2 separate regions of the Homo sapiens genome follow, and region 1 is linked to region 2. The links are contacts of gene promoters, found by promoter capture Hi-C in human tissues and cell types (Jung and others, 2019). All regions are on one chromosome and are shown on one strand. The core of a region is centred on a gene start or on the middle of the fragment in contact, and the rest is flanking DNA. Distances in the headings are between cores, read along the strand shown. Region 1 overlaps ADARB1 (adenosine deaminase RNA specific B1). Region 2 holds the start of ADARB1 (adenosine deaminase RNA specific B1).

What was found. The method cuts DNA at HindIII sites, captures the fragments that hold promoters and counts their contacts. A contact is called where the count stands out against the background at its distance.
Region 1: a fragment that was not itself captured here is called in contact with the fragment with the promoter of ADARB1 in region 2 in 2 of the 25 tissues and cell types used here (mesendoderm cells and thymus).

The regions. Positions count from the first base shown.
Region 1 is chr21:45,215,008-45,217,707 of GRCh38, forward strand. The region is part of intron 9 of ADARB1 (adenosine deaminase RNA specific B1); the gene reads left to right. Among named protein-coding and RNA genes, the nearest start is that of LINC00334, 18 kb to the right of the region's middle. The HindIII fragment of the contact is 3,297 bases long and covers 1-2,700 here.
Region 2 is chr21:45,073,139-45,075,838 of GRCh38, forward strand. ADARB1 (adenosine deaminase RNA specific B1) reads left to right here and starts at 1,442. Exons shown (of 11, transcript NM_001112.4): 1 at 1,442-1,655. LOC105372836 (a long non-coding RNA gene) reads right to left here and starts at 603. Exons shown (of 5, transcript XR_937796.3): 1 at 335-603. It also overlaps the pseudogene SSR4P1. RefSeq lists silencers at 1,086-1,175, 1,196-1,395. The HindIII fragment of the contact is 7,799 bases long and covers 1-2,700 here.

The sequences.
Region 1 (2,700 bases), core at 14-2,513, 140 kb after region 2:
CTTTCACCATTAGGTATGATGTTGGCTGTAGGATTTTTTATTGCTGTTTTTTGTTTTAGAGACAAGGTCTCACTCTTTCACCCAGGCTGGAGTGCAGTAACGTGATCATAGCTCATTGTAACCTGAAACTCCTGGGCCCAAGTGATCCTCCTGTCTCAGCCTCCTGAGTAGCTGGGACTACAGGTGCATGCCACCATGCCTGGTTCATTTTTAAATTTTTTATAGAGACAATGTCTTCCTATGTTGCCCAGATTGGTCTTGAACTCCTGGCCTCAAGCAACCCGCCTGCCTCAGTCTCCCAAAGTGCTGAGATTATAGGAATGATCCACCATATCTGGCTGCTGTAGGTTTTTTACAGATGTCTTTATCAGCTCAAGACATTTTTTTTTTCTATTTATAGCTTACTCAGCGTTTTTAATCAAGAATGTATGCTGGATTTTGTCTGATGCTTTTTTTCTGCTCTTAGATGACTGTTGTCATTGCAGTGACTTAGGCCTATAGTCCCAGCTACTTGGGAACTAAGGCAGGAGGATCACTTGAGCCCTGGAGTTTGAGGCCATCCTGGGCAATGTAGTGAGACCCCATCTGAAACAACAACAACAAAAAATGAGATGAGCATTTAGTTCATTTTTCAGTTTGCTAGTGGTGACGTTAAAAAAAAATTAAACCAACTTTGCATCTTGGGATAAACGTTATATGGTTATTATGTGCTATTCTTTTTATATATTGTTGGATTCAGTTTGCTAAAATTTCATTTAGAATTTTTGTATTTATATTTGTCTGTAGGGATATTGGGCTATCATTTTAGTTTAATGTCTTTGTCAGGCATAAAATGAGTTGGGGTGCATTTCTTTCTCTTCAGTTTTCTGGAAGAGTTTGTTTGGATTTGGTATTATTTCTTTAAATATATGGTTAAATTCACCAGTGAAACCATTGGGCCTGAAGTTTGCTTTGTAAGAAAATTCTAACTACAATTTATTTTTCTATAATAGATTTAGGGCTATTCATGTTATCTGTTTTTATCTTTTTTCTTGAGTAAGCTTCAGTAATTTGTCTTTCAGGGAATTTGTCCATTTCATCTAATTTGTCTAATATATTGGCATAAAAGCATTCAGAATATTCATTTTAATATCTGTGATATCTCTAATGATATCGTCTTATCCCTTATATTGATGATTTGTATCTTCTCTTGGTTGTTTTTTTCTGATCAGTCTAGCTGGAAGTTTTTCAATTCTGTTTGTCTCTAAGTGCCAACTTTTAGGTTCAGTGATTTTTGTCTTTTGTTTTATATTTCAATAATTTTTACTCTGATTTTAATTATTTCTTTTTTTTCCGCTTACCTGGTGTTTCAATTGCCCATCTTTTTGTAGTTTTTTAAGGTGCTAGTTGAGGTCATTGTTTTAAGACCCTTTTTACTGCTTTTGTAGCATTTAAAAATTATGATATGTTTTCATTTTCACTTATATTAAAATACTTTGTCCCTTGGGTTATTTAGAAGTCTGCTATTTAGTTTCAAAATACTAGGGATTTTACAGAGATCTTTCTGTTGTTGGTTTTTTAGTTTCATTTAATGACTTCAGTCCTTTTAAATTTATTAGACTTGGTTTTATGGACCAGAATATGATCTATCTTTATAAGTGTTCCACAAAACTTGAAAGAATGTGAATCTGCCACTTTGGGGTAGAGTGATCTGTAAATGTTGATTAGGCCAAGTTGTTTGATTATACTATTTATTTTCTTTTATATTCTTACCGATCTTCTACTTGGTCTATCAGTTATTGAGAGGCAGGATTGAAAATCTCTTAGTTATAATTGTACATTATCTATTTCTTCCCCTTTTTTAGAGTTTTTACTTCCTGTATTTTGTAGCTCTGTGATTAGATGCATAAAAATGTAGGATTGTTGGTTTATCTTAATAAACCGACCTCCTTTACCATTATATGATGACCCTCTTTATTTCTGGTAATAGTGTTTGTTCTGAAATTTGTTTTGAGATTAATATAACCTCCTCAACTTTCTTTTGATTAGTGTTAGCACAGTGTATCTTCTATCCCTTTATATTAAAGTACTTTATCTTAAAAATATGTTTCTTATAGACATATATTTATATATATTTATATGTTTGGATCTTGCTTCTCTCTCCCACCATGGACAATCTCTGCCTTTTCACTGAGGTACTTAGACCATTTACATTTATTGTGATTATTGATATTATTAGGTTTAAATTTCATCTTGCTACTTATTTTCTACGTGTTTCATATGTTCTTTGTTCACTTTTTCCTCATTTTCTTACTGCTTTTGCCTTAATTGGGTGTGTTTGATGATTCCATTTTGACTCCTTCTTGACTTTTGAGCTGTAACTTTTGTTAATTTGGTGGTGGTTTTTAGGGTTTATAGTATGCATTCTTACCACGATCTCCCTTCAAGTGATATTATACTACTTCACATATAGTAAAAGAACCTTACAACAGGATACTTTCGTTTTTCCATTCCCAACCTTTGTGGTATTGTTTTCAGACACTTTTGCATGTGTTAAAAAAATCCACATCTTATTATTTTCATCTTAATAATTATCTTTTAAAGGAATTTAAATAATAAGAAAAAAACCTCTTGTATATTTATCCATGTAGCTATCATTTCCAGGGCTCTTCATTCTTTGTATAGATCTGGATTTCCATTTTGGTATCATTTTTTCTTCTG
Region 2 (2,700 bases), core at 192-2,691:
AGTCGGAGTCTCAGTGTTGCCCGGGCCAGAGCGCAGCGGCCATTTATAGGCGCGGACCTCGGCCTCGCACACCACAGCTCCAGCTCTGAGACACAAGCGACCCGCACCCCCCCACCGCCCAGCCCCAGCCTCCAGACTGGCTGAGATCACAGTGTGCGCCACCCCATCCCTGGCTTGCGATGGTCTCTTACTCCCCACTTTACAAGGGAGGAAAGAGGCCGAGGGCAGAGTGGGCCGCCTGAGGTTTGGAGGCCAGGGCTAGTACAACCTCAATTTGACCCTGGAACCTGCCGCTTCCCCCACCCAGGTGCGGGACCCACCCGCTTGTCCACACCTGGCTCTGCCCACCGCCCCCGGCTGCTCCTCTGGGCTCAGGTCGCCGCGGTCAGGAGCTGCCAAGTTTGCCTATCAAACTTTATCTTCGTGCAGAGAACTGCAGCCTGGAGCTGGTTATTCCGGTCAGTGAAAACGTTGCATTTCTACATATGCTTATCATCATCTGTGTAAACATTTCTTGGTATAACTGTGGAACAGTCAGTAAATATAGATAAATCGAAGAGTAGGTCTATTGCATATGCTATAAAAAAATGCTTTTACTATCAACCTAAAACAAACAAACAAACAAAAAAAATCAAACAAAACCACCATCACCTAAACGTTGGTAACTGGAGCAGCTGCTAGTGTCAGTGCGGACTAAACAGGAGACGGCGGGAACCGTGTCCAGCCAGGGTCCTGGGCCGCGACCTGGTTCTCCCGGAGTCTACAGTGAGGATGACGGGCGGGGAGAGGGGGCCGGCGGGACCCGCGTGTCCCAGGCAACTCCGGGAGAGGGAGAAGCAGGGGTGGCTCGGCGGGGGCTCGGCGGGGGCTCGGCGGGGGCTCGGCGGGGGCTCGGCGGGGGCTCGGCGGGGGCTCGGCGGGGGCAGCGCCCGCTGCAGGGAGGAGCGCGGGGGCCCGGGAGCCTGGGCAGCACCGCGAGACGCCACCTCCGCAAAACGCAAACGCCAATCGCCGGGCGCCTGCGGTCCCAGCTACCAGGGAGGCTGAGGCGGCAGGATCGCGTGAGCTCGGAGGTCCACCGCGCTCCAGTCTGGGCGACAGTGAGACCCCGTCCCCAAAACGAAGGCGGGCAGAGTCTCCTCAGCCGCGCTCGGGCGGGCGGCGCCGCGACGCCAGGCCGGTCCCGCGCTCTCGCCCCACGCTCCGGAGCCGCCCAGCCGCGGTCTCTCAGCTCCGGCCGCGCTCCAGCCCCAACGGCCCCGCGCCCGTCCGCCGCAGGTGGTCGTGAGGGAGGTGCCACAGCTCCGGCTGCCCACGACAGACACGGGCGCCCCAGCGCGCGCACGTCCGGCGTCGCTGCGCCGCCCCCGCCCCCTCGGCGTGCGCGCGCCCGGCGGGCCGGCGGGGGCGGGGAGGGGGCGGAGCCGCCGGCGGCGGGGCTGAGGCGCTGAGGCGGCCGTGGCGGCGGCGGCGGCGGCGGCGGCAGCGGCGGCCAAGCGGCCAGGTTGGCGGCCGGGGCTCCGGGCCGCGCGAGGCCACGGCCACGCCGCGCCGCTGCGCACAACCAACGAGGCAGAGCGCCGCCCGGCGCGAGACTGCGGCCGAAGCGTGGGGCGCGCGTGCGGAGGACCAGGCGCGGCGCGGCTGCGGCTGAGGTGAGGGCGGCGCGGGGCCGCGGCGGCTCGGGCGGGCGCGGGCTCCGGACCCCGCGGTGGCGGCGTTTATGTAAGCGCCGGGCAGGGACTGGTGGTGGGGCCGGAGCTGCGGGCCGTCCCGGGAGCGGAGGGCGCCCGCGGAGAAGCGAGGGTGCCGCGGCACCGCCTCGCACCCACCCTCCTGGGTCGCCCGTCTGCTCCGGCGCTCGGCTCCCGGAGGAAGCTGCGCCCGGGCGGCCCCGCGTCCCCTCCCGAGGGCGCCGAGTCCGCGTGGGATGCGCCGCGCTGCGCCGCGGGGAGGGCAGGTGCGCCGGGACGAGGCTGCGCCCTGGGGACCGAGACTGCGTTTTGGGGAGGGGACGGTGTGCCCTGGAGATCGGAGGCTGCGCTGGGGACGAGGCTGCGCCCGGGGACCAGAGGCTGCCCCGGGTACAAGGTTGCGCCGGGGAACGGGAGGCTGCGTTGGCAACAAGGCTGCGCCTGGGGACGGTAGGCTATGTCCCTGGGGAGACGCTCCGCCCGGCATGGGACGCTGCGCCGGGGGACGGCAGGCTGCGCCCGGGATGAGGCTGGGCCCGGGCAGGGGAGGCTGCCTTGGGAGGGGACGCTGTGCCACGGGAGTGGAGACTGCGTTGGGGACGAGTCTGCGCCCTGGACGGTCCTGCGTGTCCTTCCGAGGGCGCAGTGTCCGCGCGGGATGCTCTGCGCCGCGGGCGGCCCGGGCCAGGGAAGTTCCTGCGGGTGCCGGGCGTCTGCAGCGATCGGGAGCAATCTGGGGCAGTTGGGGGCCCGAGGTGACTTTTGACGTGTTCACATCAGAAGGAAAATTATTGCGTGGTGGATGGGTGCGAGGGAAGGTGTCAGATTGGGCTGTGGACGCTGAAACGTGTTGGAGTCCCGATTTACACGCTGGAAAACCTAACCTAAAACGTGTTCCTGTCCAGGTTTCTATGTCGGAGATCTGCACCGTGGTGTTTAGTTCCCAGTTAATATTTTTGGTCAGCAGGTTTGGGCTGTTACTTCTGATACAGGCATTTTACTTCCT